Regions from separate parts of the Homo sapiens genome. Here all the other regions are linked to region 1. The links are contacts of gene promoters, found by promoter capture Hi-C in blood cells and fetal thymus (Javierre and others, 2016). All regions are on one chromosome and are shown on one strand. Each heading gives the region's core, a stretch centred on a gene start or on the middle of the fragment in contact. The rest is flanking DNA. Distances are from core to core; before and after follow the strand shown. Region 1 holds the start of SNRNP200 (small nuclear ribonucleoprotein U5 subunit 200). Region 2 overlaps ARID5A (AT-rich interaction domain 5A). Region 3 has its middle 11 kb from the start of ARID5A. Region 4 has its middle 26 kb from the start of ADRA2B. Region 5 holds the start of ADRA2B (adrenoceptor alpha 2B). Region 6 has its middle 14 kb from the start of DUSP2.

Region 1 (2,982 bases), core at 313-2,812:
TCCCTTTCTAGCTAGAGAACCAAGCTCTAACAGAATCTACTGCCGTTGACTATCAACAAAGTATAACAAAACTGGAAAAGAAGATATAGCACAAAGTGGAGATAATGTATTAACTCATTTCAAACATAACTACTTTAATCAAACTAAGCCTAGGAATTTTGGAAACTTCATCATAGGAAAGGGAGCAAGACACCAAGATATTCAGGATCAAAAGATAATGATGAGGTAAAGGTAAGTTTTTGAAACATATCCCCAAGAAATCTTAAAAAAAAAAAATAAAGGAAAAAAATGCAAACTAAGAAAGAAACCTGTCTTTCATACTATGGATGCTTAAATTAGTTTGTTACAACAAAATAGGTAGAACGTGGACAAGAGTAAATGGAAAAAGTAGGGGTAGGAAGTTAGTAATGGGAAAAAAGGAAAACGAATTACTGGGACATAGGAATAGCAAGGGTCTTGAAAATACCCTGAAGAAAATTAAGATCTGTCTATGGACCAGAAACACACATGTAAGAAAAAGGTACCAACAAGTTATTTTCCACTTGAGATGCACTTGTTAAGGCCAAAAAATCTTTAAACTCTCCTGGTCTGTTTTTACCTTCACTGAATTGTTTTAATGCCACTGATCTTACACCAAGCATTCCAGCAAAAATGCTGCTCGAATGTTAAAGGGAAGAGACTTTGGATCTGAAGGAAAAAATAGTATCCCCTTGGCACTCACTTGGCTCTTCTTTCCTCCTGCATCTGCGGTTTGGTCCGTTGAGCCTTGTCTCCCATACGGGTGCCCTCCAGCTTCCCAACAAGGGACAGCACCTCTCCTGTGGGTTCATCCCGGCGGGTCCGGTCAATGAGAGAACGGTCAGCTTGGAGCACAAGATTCGAGTTCTGAAAAGATCAAAACATTATTGAAGCTTTGACATGAGCAGGGCCAATTCCTACTATCATAGTTACCCCAGCTGATGGAAAAAATCGTAGTAACTAGTTGCTTATCATCACTAATCGTAATAAAAATATATTTTCCTTAAGAATTGCATAGTATAACGCTGTGCAGAAGCGTACAGCTGAATAAGTCTTATGCGCTGTCGAATCAGCTAAACAATTCTTGTTCCTAACAGCGCCCATCATAACCCACACCTGTGAAAAGTAGTGAGTGGGTTGGGAGTGACGTGTGGAAGGGGGAGGGCTTAGCGTTGAAGGTACTCGAGAAACTCCTCCTAGAGAGATCTTAGCGCTCCCCAGACCCCAGTAGGTTATTCACGTCATCGTATAACCCCCACCTTCACCCCGATTCCATTTCCCCTTCGTTTTCGTGGCTCTCCTGTAGGCCTTCAGACTGAAACTCCCTTTTTCAGCCTCCCCCTCCCCATTGGACTCCTGAGCCTGGAATCCTTCCCCAAGACCAAACGCACCGCCTTGTACTCGTATTGCAGACTACGGGCGGTTACATCCGCCATGGCCGCGGCTGCTCGGAGGCTTCAGACCACCACGCCTCCCTACCGCAAGCTGCAAACGGCCGCAGATCTCTGCTCCCGCCGCGCCGGAACGACGCAGGAAAGACGCACTGGGGAAGGAAAAGAAACGGGTTCCCTTCCGCTTCCGGGTCGCGCCCCAGAAGTGCGGGGCGGGGCGTGTCTGGGGCGTGTCCCTGCCGTGTGCGCGCGGCTTTCCGCACCCTTCTGAGCGGGATATGTGGGCCTGGTGCGTCTGGGTCCCCGAATCCCTAGACCCCCGCACTCTGGTTCTGGCCGCCCGCTGGCACTAAGGACCCAGGGCCCGTGCTCTCCCCGACCTCAGTCTCCAGCCCCCGGCACCCCTCACATCATAACGAATGCACGGCTGCTTAGCCCCTGTCCTGTCCCAAGACCTTTCCTTCCGGTTCCTTCCTCTTTGGCAACAGTCCCATGAGGTAGGCAGGAAAAGAGGGGCCGAAAACCCCATTTCCGTTTGAGGTAACTAAAGTACCCAGCGAGCAAGGTGACTTGCGCGTGTGTCTGTGTTTGTGTGTTTTAATGATTGGCGCCTTGCTTTGGGTTTCTCTTCTGTGTTCAACAATTGAAAAAGAAAGCTACTATCCCCCACCAATCCCACCTAAACCTGTGCCCCCAAGACCCTCGTTTTCACCCAGCTGAACGAACAGGGCCGGGGCCCCCATTTGCTCCCACTTGTCGGTAACATTCTATGGTAGGGCCCTCCCTGCCGCCCAGGGAAACCGGTGAAGGCAGGGCCAAATCCTTGGTGACTATGACTTAATTTCTTCCCCAGCTACAAAGTCTTCTCTGTCCCACATTCCCCACCACTTCTCGCCAGTAGAATGGCGCCTTATGGCTGAAGGTGACCTCCCTCCTCACTTAGAGCATGTTTGCTTTTGAGAAGATGAATGAACAGGAGGATGGGTGTTAAGCCAAAGGAATTCATCCTCAATAGCAGTCCCCTAGACCAGATTTGTTCTGTAGTGGTATCGTGTTTGGCTCACTGTTGGCTCCTTCTTTAAAAATTGGGATAATTTCATGCAAACTCTGGCTCTCCCCCATCAGTTGAGATACTAGAAAATCAGCCACATGACACCCACACTGCTGCATGGCATGACCTGCTGCTGGTCAGCAGCTGCCAAGGTCAGAGAATAGGCAAGTCCTTCCCACTGCTCCTGTTTTCTCATGCCTGCCCATCTCCTTATTTTTACTTGCCCAGCCCCTGTAGGCATGGAGTTTGCTGCTTTGGTGGGTGTTTGTTTTTTTTTTAATAACTCGTCTTCCCAAGGGACAGTCGAGTCCTCATGGCTCTGCTCCTCAGTGGCTGTGTGACTTTGAAGTAGCTAGCTACCTGGCCTCTCGGTGAGCACCATTTTCCTCATCCTTAAAATTGAGGCAATTGGCTGGACACGCTGGCTCACGCCTGTAATCCCAGCACTCTGGGAGGCCAAGGCAGGCGGATCACTTGAGGTCAGGAGTTTGAGACCAGCCTGGCCCACATGGTGAAACCCTG
Region 2 (2,982 bases), core at 136-2,635, 240 kb after region 1:
GAGGTCAAAATATCCAAGCATTTGGGAGAATTTGATTCCAACCTTCCTGGATGACTTTGAGGGCTTCAAGACTTCAGTGGAGAAGACACTGCAGATGCAGTGGAACCAGCAAGAGAACTAGAGTTAGAAAGCAGAGCTTGAGGATGAGACTGAATTGCTGCAATCTCATGATCAAACTTGAGTGGATGAGGAGTTGCTTTTTATGGGTGGGCAAAGAAAGTGACTTTTTTTCTTCTTTTTTTTTCTTTCCTTTTCTTTTCTTTTTCTTTTTCTTTTTTTTTTTTTTTTTTGAGACAGAGTCTTGTTCCATCGCCCAGACTGGAGTACAGTGGAGTAATCTCAGCTCACTGCAGCCTCCGCCTCCTAGGTTCAAAGGATTCTCCTGCCTCAGCCTCCTGAGTTGCTGGGACTACTGGGACCTGCCACCACACCCAGCTGACTTTTGTGTTTTTAGTAGAGACAGGGTTTCGCCACGTTGGCCAGGCTGGTCTCAAACTTCTGACCTCAGGTGATCCACCCACCTTGGCCCCCAAAGTGCTGGGATTACAGGCGTGAGCCACCGCGCCCATCCTAAAGTGGCTTCTTGAGGTGGAATCTACTGGCGAAGATGCTGTGAACATTGTCAAAATGACAACAAAGGATTTAGAATGTTACAGAAACTTAGTTGATAAAGCAGCAGCAGGGTTTGAGAGGAGGGACATCAGTTTTGAAAGTTTTGCTGTGGATAAAATGCTGTCAAAAATAGCATCACATGCATGCCATGGAGAAGTCTTTCATGAAAGGAAGAGTTGCCAGGTGCAGTGGCTCATGCCTGTAATCCCAGCACTTTGGGAGGCCGAGGTGGGTGGATCATGAGGTCAGGAGTTTGAGACCAGTCTGGCCAATATGGTGAAACCCCGTCTCTACTAAAAATACAAAAATTAGCCGGGCTTAGTGGCACGCACCTGTAGTCCCAGCTACTCGGGAGGCTGAGGCAGGAGAATCACTTGAACCTGGGAGGCGAAGATTGCAGTGAGCCAAGATCACGCCACTGCACTCCAGCCTGGGCAACAGAGCAAGATTCTGACTCAAAAAAAAAAAAAGAGTTAATGGATGTGGCAAACTTCATTGTTGTCTTATTTTAAGAAATTGCCACAGTCACCCCAGCCCAAGAAACCACCACCCTGAAATCAGTCAGCAGCCATCAACATGGAGGGAAGACATAAGAACACCTACCAAAGCAGGACCACTCAGTGGCCAAGGATTCTACCCTGTGCCTCTGAGTACCACTGGCCCCTGGCTTACGCTGGTTTGGGTTTCTTGTTCCTGAGGAGATTCTTTTTCTGTCTGGGATGGAAGGGAAATCTCATAGGTTCCTAACAATAAGGATGTCCTGGGAGGGAGTGAACCAATTCATACTTGATTAACAAAAGAACAAAGGACAGAAAGAAAAGGTTGTCAGAAGATGTGGGTTCCTGGTCTGGTATCTGCTGCCAGCCTGCTGTGTGGCCTCAGGCAGTTTCCAGTGGTTGTGGTTTTTGCAGTGGCAGAGGTGTTGCGTTTTTGCAACCATCAGCACATGGTGGTTCTTAGTAAAATACAGCCCATGGCTTCTCCTGCCCACCACGCAGGGTTGTTGTGAGCCTTGCTCATTCCAGCTTGGCACCTGCTGTGTGGGGTATGGGAAGCCTCACCGAACTATCAGGGAGCCCCAGGAGCCACAGGCAGTTCAGCCAGGATGGCTGTGAGTAGCCTAGGGCGAGGGAGGAGCTGCCCGTGGCCAGGGGCCAGAGGAGGCCACCCAGAGGAAGGCACTTGTCAGCAGAGACCTGAGGGGTCACCAGGACCCTTGTAGGTGAGGAGAGCATGTGGCCTTATTAGGGCAGTTAGAACTCTGCAGATGCTCAGGGAAAGGTCAGATATTCCTGAATATTCCCAGAGGAACTACTACCCAGGGACCCCTGTGTTGCTTTGGGGCCACAGCCATGGGATCCTTTAGCTCTCCAGTGAGACTAAGCTGCTTCTCAACTCTGTGTCTGAGCATGGGGCAGATTTTGGAGACAGGATTTCCCCAAGCACCACAGCCCAACCCCGGCCTCCTGTGACTTGACCTCAAGGTGGTTTTGCGTTTCCTTCAAAGATGTGGGGAGATAGTTGGAGCAGAGGAAAGAAAAGGGACAGGTGTGGAGCGGATGCAGCGGGTTGTCGGGGAGCGGGGAGGAGGGCCTGTGTGTGTGTGTGCATGTAGCCTATGTGCAGCCAGGGACACACCCCTTCCCCCTGGCCAATTCTTTTTTTTTTTTTAATAATAGAGACGGGGTCTCACTACGTTGCCCAGACAGGTCTTGAACTCCTGACCTCAGGTCATCGCCTGCCTGGGCCTCCCAAAGTGCTGGGATCACAGGAGTGAGCCCCTGCACTGGCGCCCTCTGGCAACTCCAATTGGGAGTAGGGAGAGTGCTCCTGTTCCTCCCTGCTTGCATCTCATATGCTCTCTCCCCACCCCTTCCTCCTTACTCCTTCCCTCTCTCCTTGCAGCAGCCCCTGTCAAAGGGAACAGGAAGCAGTCCACGGAGGGTGACGCCCTAGACCCACCTGCATCCCCCAAACCTGCTGGCAAGCAGAACGGAATCCAGAACCCCATCTCGCTGGAGGTGAGTTGACTCCCTCTGCTGACTCCCTGGGCACTCTTCCCTGCCACCCTCACCTGTGCTCCGCCTCCAGGTGAACCTGGACACTCCCCAAGCTCTCAGGAGGGAGATATGTTCCTACCCTGGCCCTGCCCAGCAGCCAGGGGACTTACTTGTCATCTGTGGCAGAGAGTTTCAATCTTGGTTTTTGTAGCAGAACCCTTTTTTGAAATGAAGATGACCTACCACCCTGATCCATTAAACAGACAAAAGCTCCAGCCCATGATGTAAAACCACATTCACATCCATTCATTCAGATGCATAACATGGGCGTATAAAGTCACTCGGTGAGACCAGCAAGACTGTTTCGATG
Region 3 (2,982 bases), core at 140-2,639, 220 kb after region 1:
CCCAGGTAAAAAGTTAGCAAAACATACCTTGTTCAAAACAACTGGCCAAGGACGGGATGTGAAGCAGCCACTGCTGCTAGGGGCACAGCATCCATTGGAGTTCCCTCCCCACCCCTAACTGCCCGAGGGCAGCAGATCCAGGGTTGCCCGGCCACCTCCCTCTCCTGACTGCAGTGTGGGAAGAAACGCAGGACGCTGGCAGGCACCAGACCGTGCCCCGCCCCTGATCCACAGTGTGGCTTTGAGCACACCACTTTCCCTCTCTGGGCCTTGGTTTTCCCATCTGTAAAATCAGGGCACAGTGAACTGTAAAGGGCTCGGAGGGAAATTTCATGGACTGGTTGATGATCCCAGGCTGCCGCCCTTTAGGAGAGGTCCTCCCTCCAGAGGGCTCTTGGACCTTGGGGATCCCAGGTGGGAGCCTTCATGGGAAGCGGAAGTGAGCCCTGAGACCTCTGCAGGCTTCTCTCCTACCTCTGAAAGACTGAGCAGGCAGCCTGGTGTCTCAGACACTCCTCATTTCCCTACTTCCCTTCAACAGGGTTAGAGTTCCTACGAAAGCTTTGCTGCCATGCAAGAAGGCAGAATGCTCTCCCACATGGAGACGCACCCAGACAGTCCACGGGACACATGTGTGCATAAGCCCGAGTGTGCTCAAGCCCCTCCATACCACTGGCATGGCACTATGGCACTCTAAGCAGGAGCTCAGAGGACTTCTGGGCCAGACCTAGGGCAGCCCTTGCCACTCCTGAGTGACAGACCTAAGTCTGGGTACCAGGGCAGTGAGGACTTCCAGAATGTACACAATATAGCAGGACCCACTCTGCTTCTTGTCCTTCCTCCAAGTGCCCACTCAGCATCTTAAAATGGAGATGTAGCCTGGTGCAGTGGCTCACGCCTATAATCCCAGCACTTTGGGAGGCCAAAGTGGGTGGATCACTTGAGCCCAGGAGTTCAAGACCAGTCTGGGCAACATAGCAAGATCCCACCTCCATAAAATTTTTTAAAAGATTAGACAGGCATGGTGGTGCATGCCTATGGTCGTGGCTGCCTGGGAGGCTGAAGTGCGAGAATCACCTAAGCCTAGGAGTCCAAGGCTGCAGTGAGCTGAGATTGCACCACTGCACTTCAGACTGACCCTGTCTCAAAAAAAAAAAAAAAAAAAAAACAGAGAGATGCTCCCAGCTTTCTTCCAGGAGCGAGGTATTCCCTTCATCCCTTGGGATTAACAGTCAATGCCACCCCCTCTAAGCCACTTATTGTGATATTGACATACTTCAGTGTCAGTACTAGGGACTGCTCCAAGTCCCAGCATGGCTGGGACCACCCTGGTGCCTTCCCCCTCTTCAGACTCCCCAGCAATGTGACAACTGAGTGGGGGGTGACACTAGGTCCTCTGGTAGGTCAGGAGCTGTAATGACCCAGTCCTGCCGGGCCACCCTGTAGCATCACGCTGTGGCAGGGAGGCAGGGATTGCAGGCACCTGAGTCCTCCTCACACGCTCAGCTGACCCCGCAGGTCCCTGACCTAGGCTGTGTTTGGTGCCTGTCCTTGCATATGGCGGGCAGCAGCCAGGCTTTGTGTGCAGCACTGTGTCACAGCCGTCTCGCTGTCTGCAGGACTGTTACCGGTGACAGCAGCTATGTGCCTGGCCCTTCTGGGAGCTCAGGAGGGTCCTGCTTACAGGGCGAATTTTGTGCTGAGACAGCTGAGAGGCCAGGTGTTCTGGGCGGCCCAGGAAAACCAGCCGTCAGCATCTCCTGCCCACACCTGTCCTGAGGTCAGAATGAACTTGAGTCCAGCAGGCTCCCAGAGCCAGAGAGCTTCTGCACCTGCAAAGCCCGGCTCCCTGCTTCAGACTGAAGGTGGGGACCTGAAGAGAATGCATACAGGCACCTCAGACTGGACACAGGGGTTGCGGGGGGAGCGGAGGGGAGCCCCTGGGCCCACCCCACCCACTCCACCCTGGCAATTCAGCTTGAAACAAATGATTAGCCTCTCTGTATAGATCCATGTTTCTCTCCTGGGCATGTCGGTTCGGTAAAACCCCGTTCATTTGGGCCTCACTGTGACCTCTAGGACGCTGGCCAAAGGGCAAGCGCCGCCAGGCCAAGGGGCCTGGGAGTGAAATCGTGGGTGAGGATAGGTGACAGGGGTGTTGAATCGGCCCGAGCGGTTCTTTCTTTTCGAGTTAATTTCGCATTGGTCTCTAGGATGCAAGCTTGTCCAACGCGTGGCCCAAGGGCGGCATGTGACTGAGGAAGGTTTTGAATGCGGCCCAAATTCATAAAGCTTTCTTAGAACACTGAGGTATTTTCGCGATTTTTTCTTTTAGCTCACCGGCTGTCGGTAGTGTTAGTGTATTTTACGTATGGTCCAAGACAATTCTTCAACTTCAAAAGACGGAACGCCCCTGCAATGGGACGCCAGACACCTCTAAGAGTGGGTGTAGGCCTCCAAAAGTGTCCACATGATACTTCCAGAAAAACTTCACATGCGGAGGTGTGCAGGAATGTGCGTGCTGCTAGAAAAGAGGCCTAAGGGGTCTGCCCAACGTCCTGAGAACCCGAGAGAGCAGGGCCCGCTGGGACAGGCAGGGGAAGGCCTCGGGAGGGACACGACGGTCCGGCAGCAGAGCCTGCGGGGCTGGAGGAGGCGCCCTCCTCTCAGCTGCTCTTCCTGCCCCTTTCGGTGGCGAAGATGGATGGGGCCCGGGGCTTTCGGCGGGGCCCGAGGGGCCGGCGAGGCTGCGGCCCTGGAGCCCCCTGCCTGGCAGCCATTTGGGCCCCAGGGAAATATCGGCGCTTTGGCTAACCGAATTATTCTTTCGGTTTGAGCCAGCTCCCCTTTTTGAGTCAGATCCGGCGGCAGGGCCAGAAAAGCGCTTTCTGAAACCCCAGCGCGGTCCTCGGTGGGGGTGGAATGGGGTGGGGTGGGGGGCGCGGCCGCGCCGCTGGGCGCCCTCCCCGCCCTCCCCCCTCC
Region 4 (2,982 bases), core at 211-2,710, 210 kb before region 1:
CATTGTTTGTGATCATTCTCCATCCTTGTCCCTCCACAACAGCACCTCTACACCGGCACTACCTGTGATCCAGAGCATGTTCGAGGGAGTGAGGAAGAAACGTGAGGGGGAAATGGGGCCTCATGGTCCAGCCGGGGCTCCTCTTCCCAGACTTACCTGGGCACTGGCAGTGGCCTCGAGCGGCAGGCTGGGTCCTCTTTCCCAGCCACGCCAGGCTTGGCCCCATGCCCAGCTCCCCTCCAGTCCTTTCACAGGCCCAGGTCACAGCTGAGTCGGAACCATAGGTCCAGGGGTACAAGCTTTCCGCACCTGGGCCAGGTGCCACCTCCCTTCCTTCCTCCGCCCCCTGCCTCCTGTGGGTGGCTCCCTACAAGCCTTTAGGTGTCTCGCTCCCACCCCACGCTGCACAGGGACAAATGAGGGAGCCCACACACTCCTGACCCCCTGCACCTGGGAGGAAGCAAAGACGGAGGGTGGAGGGTGGAGGGTGAGCAGGAGGGAGAGCCAAGCAAGGCTGCTGTCGGCACCACCCCCAGGCTGGCTTGTGTCCAGCACTGGCCATGAGAGTCCCTTGCTCTCTGGCGGCCTCTGTTCTCATTCGGCTGTCCTCAGCTGCATCTGGTCAGCAGCTAGCAGGGGCTGCAGCGTGGCAGGTGGAGAACTGCGAGGGGCCCTGGTGCGGATTCCAGGCCTCACCTGAGTCCTGCTTGGTGCCATTTGTCTTGACAACTGCTGACACTGAGTCTCCGAGACAGAAAAACAGGCAGAAAAGGGAACTGCGGCAGAAGGGGCTCCTGAGAGAGGGGCTGTGGCAGGGCAGGGGCTCGAGTGTGCTCTGGGCCAGGGAACCTGCTCCTGAGAGTCTGGGAGACTTTTCCATTTTCCAACGCGGTTTCACATTCAGGGCCTCAGTCCGCCTCACAGCACCAGCCCCGGCCTGAGACAGGCAGGCTCAGCCTCGCTAACAAATGAAAGAGCCACTTATGGGCCCTGTTTTGTGCCGGGCTTTGCACTGGCTGCATGTGGGACCCAGTCCAGGGAGAGGCAGACAGATAGATAACTGAGAATGGTGCCGCAAGGGAAGTGCTCCAGCTGGTGTGTCCCCAGGCTGCAAGTCCCAGGCCCAGGAGGAGAGTGGAAGCTGGGGGCTCAGAAAGGCCTCCTAGAGCAGTGAGCCTAGAAGGAGGCCCAGAATGCAGCCGGCTGGGAAGAAAAGGCCAGGATAGGGAAGAGACATGCAAAGGCCTAGAAATTGCAAAATAGCTTTAAGTACTGAGGGCTTACTAAGGGCCAGGTGCCTGATGGTCCATCTTTCCCAACATTTTTCAACGTAGGCATTATTATCTCATTTCACAGACGAGAAAAGTGGTCTCATGTTACACCACTTGCACACCGTTACTCCTAAGGTTTTTGTGAGTCAGAGTAAGCGAACTGCTAGAACAAAGAATCCCAGATCTCTGCAGCTGAGCACAGGCTGATTTCTTGCTCATGTCACAGTCTAGGGTGAATCCAAGTGGTGATTCAGGGACCCAGGCTCTATTTATTCTCTAGTGCTACCATCTTTAGCTTGTGGCCTGCATGCTTGCAACAAAAGGGAAACTGAGTAAAGGATCCTGCTTGGGAGACTTTCATGGGCCAAGTGGATGTGGCGTACGTCTCTCTTCCACCCCCTTTCCATTGGCCCAACTCATGCCTAGATCAAGGGGGCTGGGAAATGTGGTCTCAGGGTGGTCAGGAAGAGGGGGACACCAGGAAGAGGGGGACACCCAGGATGTCAGGGGACTCTGGATGGTACATCCCTGAGCAGCTGATCCTGGGCCTGTGTCCTTAGCCAGAGGCTACTGCCCTTCATGCACCAGGGAGGAACTGGGCACCCTGGGGAATGGCAAGTAACTGGGGTGGCGCCTGGACTTTGTCCTGTGGGCAGCCAGGAGCCACCAACAGGCTTTCAGGAGGGAAGTGCCCTGGGCAAGCCTGGGTTGCAGAGAGATAAGACTGCCGAGGAGAGAGCGTCGGGGAGGCAGGGGCGAGGTGACCAGGCCTGCAGTTCTTGTGAGCAGCCCAGAGCCCTTGGGGACCCCAGGCTGAGTCTCTGGACCCCTGCTCCAGCGCTCATCCTCCTCCTTCCCAGCCCATCATGAAATCCTGGCCACCCAAGCCTCAGCCATGCCTTCCCAACAGGGACAATAGGCAGGACACCCAGCTCCGCCCCAGAATGCAGCTGAGGGGAAGGCCGAGGGGAAGGCAGCGGAGGGCAGACGTGAGGCTATAATTCTATTGCCAGCTTCTGGGAGCCAGCAGGGGCAGAGGCACGGATAACCACATTTGGTTCATTGCAGGCGCCGGGGACATCACTCAGGCCCGGCAAGGAGCCAGTCATCCAGACTGCATGTGCCCTGCAGGGAAACCGTCTCCCAGCAGCCTCGTTAGGGTAGGGGCTTGAACAGGAGACCGAGGGCAGACCTCGGCAGGGCCATTTGAGAGGCTGGGAGGCTGGCAGCTTCTGAGAACCACTGCCAGGAGCTGGTCCCTGACTCTAAACCCCCTCTCCTGGAGCCATGGGTCGGTCGCACGGGGCAGTGTGAAAGGAGCCAGGTGGTGGGGGTGGTGCCCTCCCCAGGGGAAGCTTGGTGAGGCAGGCAGGGAATCGGGCCCTGGATCTTGGCTTCCTTAGCTGGAGCGGAGAGGCGTTTCCTGACGTATGGGAACACCTGGTGTGCAGTTACACGCTGGCTCCTGTAAACCTCCTCGCACCCATTCCCACTCAATGCTGCCTGGTAACAACACCTCTCCCTCTTCTGTCCCCTCCAGGCCCTTCCAGGCTTTGCAAAAGGAGATGGGTGTGGCCCCTGTGGGATTTCCCCAGTGCCCAACCCTGATGGCAGCTGCTGGCTCCTCCCTGTCCTCGTCCTCCCTCCCATCACAGGCCTCCTGCAACAACCACCCCACCCCCCAGAGCTGGCCCCCAGGACATGCCTGTTT
Region 5 (2,982 bases), core at 102-2,601, 190 kb before region 1:
ACACTCTTCCTCCTCCTCCTCCTCCTCTTCCTCCTCTTCAGCTTCATCCTCTGGAGATGCCCCACAAACACCCTCCTTCTGGCCCTGGCCTGAGTTGGGAAGGGCAGCCCAACTGGGTGGCAAGGCCCGGGTCCCAGTATCTTCAGGGGTCTCCCCCTCCTCCTTCTCCCCAGTGGACTTCGAGTGTCCGTTGACCTCTCTGGCAGAAGCCACAGAGGCCAGGGCTGGCAGTTTGGCTGAGGCCAAAGCCCCACCATGGTCGGGTCGGGGCTGCTTGGACTCACCCTGCCCAGGCCCCCCCTTGGCCCTGGGACCTCTGCGGTTGCTGCGTTTGGCGATCAGGTAGATGCGCAGGTAGACAAGGATCATGATGAGGCAAGGAGCAAAGAAAGATCCGATGCTGGAGGCCAGGATGTACCAGGCCTCCTGGTTGAGCTTGCACTGGGGGCGCCCGCGCGGCTGGGGGCCCTGGTCGCCCTTGTAGATGAGGGGCGGCAGCGAGATGACGGCGGCGATGAGCCACACAGTGAGGATGATGCACTTGATGCGGCGCGGGGTGCGCTTGGAGTTGTACTCCAGCGCGCGGCTCACGGCCCAGTAGCGGTCCAGGCTGATGGCGCACAGGTGCACGATGGACGAGGTGCAGAAGAGCACGTCGAGCGCCAGGTACACCTCGCACCACGTGCGCCGGAAGTACCAGTAGCCCAGCAGCTCGTTGGCCAGCGAGAAAGGGATGATGAGCGTGGCCACCAGGATGTCGGCGGCGGCCAGCGACACCAGGAACAGGTTCTGAGGGGCGCGCAGCGAGCGGCTGGTCAACACAGCCAGGATGACCAGAGCGTTGCCGAAGATGGTAAAGAGAATGAGGAAGGTGATGGCCGCCGCTATGGCCGCTGTGGCCTGCACGGAGTAGGGGTCCTGGTGGTCCATGACGGGGCGGGAGGTGGGCAGAGGGAGCGCTGCCCGCCCAGTGCGCACCGTGGACGACAGCGCTGCCCGGCTCGGCTAGACAAGAGCGTCGCCCCTCGGGCGGCGCCGAGGGCGCTGGAGCCCCATGGCCTGGACGAGCGGGGCCTAGGAGGTCGGGAACACCCAGGACCAGCAGCCGCCCTCCTACATCCTCCTCCACCGGTGCCCGGGGTCCCTGCCGTCCGCCCCAGAGAAGTTTCCCAAGTTGTCCCGCCGCCGTCCCCGTCCCGCCCGGGACCGGAGAAAGTCGCGCCCTCCCGCCACGCGGATGCCGTACGCTCTGGGGGCGCGGGCCGGGCTGGGCCGGTTCTTAAAGGAGGCGCGGAGGACCTTGCGCCCGCTCAGCTCGCAGGCTTTCGCCCCAGCCGCGCCTGCAGGGGAGTGGGGAGCGGGGAGAGCGGCTGGAGGAAGGCGGAGACTGGAGGCGGGCGCGGGAGCGGGCGGGAGGCGGGGCGGTGGGCGGACCGAGGTGGGCTGAAGGTGCGCTTCGCGGGAGGCGTGAGCCCGGGACTTCCCGCGCCCGGACCCCGCCCAGCGCCTCTACCTGCCTTCCTCCCGGCGGCCGCGCCTCGGGAGAGCGGAGGGGCCCGGCGGCCGGGGTCTCCGGCCCCCAGGCAGGACGCGCGCAGCTGTGGAGGGGTCGGTGGGTGCCGGGAGCCGGGACGCGGAGCTAGCGCGCGGGCCGGCACCGGGACGGGACACTTCTCCCGGGGGAACCGGGCTGGGCCCGGCGCCGGTGCGCCCTGCTCTGCCTTCCGCCGCTCGGGAGCCCGCAGGGAGGGCAGGGCGGGCGTGGGGCTGGGGCGCCGGGTCGCAATACACCACAACCCCGCCCGGCTCGGCCGTGGAGACGCCCTGCGGAGAGGTGGGGGAGCGGGGAGCGGGGAGCCGGTCCCGACCCTTTCCCAGGCGCTGCCCCTCGCGGACCAGCTCCGTCGGGCCAGCGCCGCGCGAGGAGGGCGCGTCCCGGCCTGCGAGCGCCCCCTGCTGCCGCCCGCGGGCCCAGCCCGTCAGCGGCAGCCCGGGTCCCGGAGCCAGCGCTCGCAGCCTGGGTCTTAGGACTTCGGCTTCTTGTGTCTCCGCAGCTGCCTCAGTTTCCTCCATTAAGGGCAAAGGAGGTAACAGGGAAACTGGCTTGGACTCGAATCACAGCATCAACTGCGATTCAGCCAAGGGTTTGTACGGGGCACAGGGCGAGCTGCCGCCCCTTGACTAATGCGAAGGGGAGGTCCCTTCCTTGCCGTGGGGGAGTAAAGGGTGGGGACTTTGTCACACAGCTCCGAGAAAAAGCAGGTCTCAGGGGCAGCCGTGAAGAGAGGAGCGTCCCTCCGCTTCTGTAGTGACCCCGGGGGAAGGGGTTGACCCTCCCTCCCTGCTGCGGTCCTGCCCCACATACACACTGAAGCCCTTCTGGGGGTGACAGTGGAAAGAGGGTTGGGGTAAAAAGAAACTTCAGACTAAGGCCCCCCACTCGCCTTCAAAGCGCTATGAGCAACTGTTCTCCCTCAGGGCCCCAACTCACTCTCCCTGCCACACCGCCACCAGCACCAGCCTGGGCAGCCCTGAGGGCATGTTTCCCCGGTTCTGGAGCCCCTAATGTCATAAGCCCCGCCTCGAGCCAGGCCTCTTATTCACAGCCCACGACTCTGCAAGGCATCCTCTGTATAAATAAGCACCAATCCACCTCTGACAGTGGGGCTCCCCCAGGCCCCGTCCAACCTGCTGGACCTCCTCTCCTCCCTGCTCCCTCCATGGGAGCAGAGCACGTGGCCTCTCAGTGCCCACGGACAATGTCTAGCGCCTCCCCAGGCTCAGGTGGGAGGTGCCCCGTCTCAGGTACCCAGACCAGCACCCCCAGCCACGGGGGTGTGTTGGGAGTAGGTGCCTCCTTGATCCCCCCATCCCTGTCATTCTGCCAGACTCCCCAGCTTCTGGTGAGGTGCAAGTGCCCACAGCCCATGGGGTGGATGCTGCCAGGGCTGGGTTCGGACAGGGCAATCAGCCTCCTTCCCA
Region 6 (2,982 bases), core at 193-2,692, 150 kb before region 1:
GGACCCTCCTGCTCTGGCACCTCTCAGCCTCCTGGCCCTTGACTCCTCAACTTTGGATCCTGTGGGGCAAGAGAGGGCAGTCAGGGAGAGCAGAGGCCCCATGGTTGTCAATTCAGGGGGAGCGTCACAGACAGTGCCCCCCTGCCCCACCTAGCTGGGCCCCTTCCTCGTGCATCTCCGGGCTGCTTATGCTAAGAGAACCTTCCTCCTTTCCCTGATCGGCAGCCCCTTCTGTAGGCTCCATGCAGCAGGTGCTGGGACAGAAGAAATCCATGCTGGTGCACTGCAGCCGTCTGCTCCCGAGAGGGCCGCCTCGGGACCTGCTGCCCAGCACGGGCTCGGGCAAGGCTTGCTGAGAGGCTCAGGGCACGGGGGATCCAGGAGTCCAAGGTGGACCCAGGGGGCCTGGCCGCCTGCACAGCCCCTTCTTGTCCTAGCTTGGCAGGAGGCCCTCAGACCCTGGCCAGTGAGGTCCAGAGAGTCTGCACTGGGACAGCCCAGTCACATCAGCGGCAAGAAGAGTCGCGAGAGAGCCAGGAGCTGGGTCACGAGAGGGTGTTGCTGACTGTTTTTGGCCCCAGCCCCTTCTTGCCCCTTCAATAAACTTCTCCTCCTCCACCCTGGAATTTCCCCAGGAGGATCACACACATTAGAGGGGCGCTGCCCAGAACTAAGACCTCCGTGAGACTCAGCCATTCAACACATATTTGTGGAGCAGCTCTTATGCGCCAGGCACCGCTCTGGGCTCTGGGAATGCAGTGGCTTTGCTGGTTACTCTCTGTCCCCTTCCCCTTCCCAGACCCGTTCTCCTCCCTGCTCTGGGCCCACAGGCTGCCATGCACGGACAGTCAGGTGGGATCTCTCACTCTCTGCTTCCTGACTACTCAGCCAGAAGGCACCAGGAGGCGAAGTGGGGAAAGAGTCTCGAGGACTTCTATCCCTGCTCCTCCTCTGCCCTGACACCAAGGTGTGGGCCGGGCTGGGTCCCTCTGGGACTCCCGTTCCCATAGCTCGGCCCCTCTTCACAGCCCTCGCTGTCCCAGACTCTGACAACATCTTCCCTCTCCTTGTTCTCCCAGCCCAAAAAAGAAGAATGGCCTTGTGGTACAGTGCAAAAATGACTACAACATTTTGACGCTCTTCTATCAAGAGGTGGAGTCCAATTCTCCACAACACATCAAGGACACAGGACAGCCCAGCCTGTGGCACAGGTGCTTTCTCACACATCCTGCCCAGACGCCCACGGTTCCTGGTACTGTGTGTTTGCCCTCGCTGCAAATATGCCCGATTTGTTCAACTACAGCTGTGTTCCTCGTGGTCTTTGGCTGGAGGGAGTTGAGAGACCCCACCTCTATCCTGGTTCCAGCCTCGCCCCTCCTCCTGTAGCATCCAGAATGAACTTTCTAAGTTTCTAAATTGCTCTGCTGGAAACCTTTCAGTGGCACCCAGGTATGTCGGTAGCAGTTCGATTTGGCTGACAGGACAGTGGCCCAGGGTTAAGTGGGGACTAGGAGCTCAGGCTGGTATGCAGGCTCTCCTCCCCAGAACTCCCAGCATATAAAAACTATAAAAACCCTAGAAGAAAACCTAGGAAATACCATTCTGGACACAAGCCCTGGCAGAGACTCCAAAAGCAATTGGAACAAAACCAAAAATTAACAAATGGGACCTAATTAAACTAAACAGCTTCTACACAGCAAAAGAAACCATCAACAGAGTAAACAGGCAACCTACAGAACAAGAGAAAATATTTGCAAACAATGCATCCAACAAAGTTCTAATATCCAGAATCTATAAGGAACTTAAATTAACAAGCAAAAAACAACCCCATTTAAAAAATGGACAAAGGGCTGGGTACAATGGCTCATGCCTGTAATCCAGCACTTTTGGAGGCCAAAGCAGGCAGACCACTTGAGGTCAGGAGTTCAAGAGACCAGCCTGGCCAATATGTGAAACCCTGTCTCTACTAAAAATACAAAAATTAGCCAGCTGTGGTGGCTCGCGCCTGTAGCCCCAGCTAGCTACTTGGGAGGCTGAGGCAGGAGAATCACTTCAACCCAGAAGGCAGAGGTTGCAGTGAGCCGAGACCTCGCCACTGCACTCTAGCCTGGGTGACAGAGCAAGACTCTCTCTCAAAAAAATAAAAAATAAAAATAATAAAAATGGGCAAAGGCCATGAACAGACACTTCTCAAAAGAAGACATACATATGGCCAACAAGCATATGAATAAAATGGTCAGTATCACTAATTATTAGAGAAAGGCAAATCGAAACCACAATGAGATAACAATTCACACCAGTCAGAATGGCTACTATTAAAAAGTCAAAAAATAACAGATGCTGGAGAGGTTGTAGAGAAAAGAGAACACTTCCATGCTGCCAGTGGGAATGTAAATTAGTTCAGCCACTGTAGAAAGCAGTTTGGAGATTTCTCCAAGAACTTAAAGCAGAACTATCATTTGACCCAGCAATTCATTACTGAGTATGTACCCAAAGGAACATAAATCATTCTACCACAAAGACACATGCACGTGAATGCTCATTACAGCACTATGCACAACAGCAAGGAGGAGGAATAAACCTAAATGCCCATCAACGGTGGACTGGATAAAGAAAATGTGGTGCATATATACCATGGAAGATTACACAGCCATAAAAAAGGAGATCAAGTCCTTTGCAGCAACACGGATGGAGGTGGAGGCCATCATCCTAAGCAAATTAATGCAGGAATAGATAACCAAATACCGCAAGTTCTCACTTATAAGTGGGAGCTAAACGTTGAGCACACATGGAGCCTACTTGAGGTGGACGAGGAGGGTGAGGGTCGAAAAACTACCTGTCTAGTACTATCCTTATTACTGGGGTGACGAAAAAATCTGTACACCAAACCCCCATAACGTGCAATTTACCCATGTCACAAGCTTGCACACATACCCTCTGAACCTAAAATAAAAGTTGGAGAGAAAAAAAACAAAATAAACT

The links. Contacts are between HindIII fragments. The CHiCAGO score rates a contact against its expected background, and 5 or more counts as called.
Region 2: a fragment that was not itself captured here is called in contact with the fragment with the promoter of SNRNP200 in region 1 in 5 of 17 cell types (naive CD8 T cells, monocytes, total CD8 T cells and 2 more); the score reaches 7.1 in naive CD8 T cells.
Region 3: a fragment that was not itself captured here is called in contact with the fragment with the promoter of SNRNP200 in region 1 in 7 of 17 cell types (activated CD4 T cells, naive CD8 T cells, naive CD4 T cells and 4 more); the score reaches 8.7 in activated CD4 T cells.
Region 4: a fragment that was not itself captured here is called in contact with the fragment with the promoter of SNRNP200 in region 1 in 1 of 17 cell types (neutrophils); the score reaches 5.0 in neutrophils.
Region 5: a contact is called between the fragment with the promoter of ADRA2B here and the fragment with the promoter of SNRNP200 in region 1, in 9 of 17 cell types (fetal thymus, M0 macrophages, M1 macrophages and 6 more). The highest score is 7.3, in fetal thymus.
Region 6: a fragment that was not itself captured here is called in contact with the fragment with the promoter of SNRNP200 in region 1 in 1 of 17 cell types (erythroblasts); the score reaches 5.8 in erythroblasts.

The regions. Positions count from the first base shown.
Region 1 is chr2:96,303,984-96,306,965 of GRCh38, forward strand. SNRNP200 (small nuclear ribonucleoprotein U5 subunit 200) reads right to left here and starts at 1,563. Exons shown (of 45, transcript NM_014014.5): 1 at 1,410-1,563; 2 at 722-885. The coding sequence starts at 1,454. RefSeq lists enhancers at 1,428-1,722, 1,972-2,051, 2,644-2,982. The HindIII fragment of the contact is 15,934 bases long and covers 910-2,982 here.
Region 2 is chr2:96,544,885-96,547,866 of GRCh38, forward strand. ARID5A (AT-rich interaction domain 5A) reads left to right here. Exons shown (of 7, transcript NM_212481.3): 2 at 2,518-2,633. Among named protein-coding and RNA genes, the nearest start is that of ARID5A, 9.6 kb to the left of the region's middle. The HindIII fragment of the contact is 8,360 bases long and covers 1-2,982 here.
Region 3 is chr2:96,524,687-96,527,668 of GRCh38, forward strand. No RefSeq gene overlaps it. Among named protein-coding and RNA genes, the nearest start is that of ARID5A, 11 kb to the right of the region's middle. RefSeq lists an enhancer at 1-181 and a silencer at 2,514-2,853. The HindIII fragment of the contact is 1,660 bases long and covers 560-2,219 here.
Region 4 is chr2:96,089,325-96,092,306 of GRCh38, forward strand. No RefSeq gene overlaps it. Among named protein-coding and RNA genes, the nearest start is that of ADRA2B, 26 kb to the right of the region's middle. RefSeq lists an enhancer at 2,917-2,982. The HindIII fragment of the contact is 2,327 bases long and covers 298-2,624 here.
Region 5 is chr2:96,115,220-96,118,201 of GRCh38, forward strand. ADRA2B (adrenoceptor alpha 2B) reads right to left here and starts at 1,352. Exons shown (of 1, transcript NM_000682.7): 1 at 1-1,352. The coding sequence starts at 930. RefSeq lists silencers at 1,252-1,341, 1,442-1,601, 1,612-2,071, 2,112-2,181. The HindIII fragment of the contact is 8,066 bases long and covers 1-2,982 here.
Region 6 is chr2:96,158,381-96,161,362 of GRCh38, forward strand. No RefSeq gene overlaps it. Among named protein-coding and RNA genes, the nearest start is that of DUSP2, 14 kb to the left of the region's middle. RefSeq lists enhancers at 91-230, 239-776. The HindIII fragment of the contact is 2,954 bases long and covers 1-2,919 here.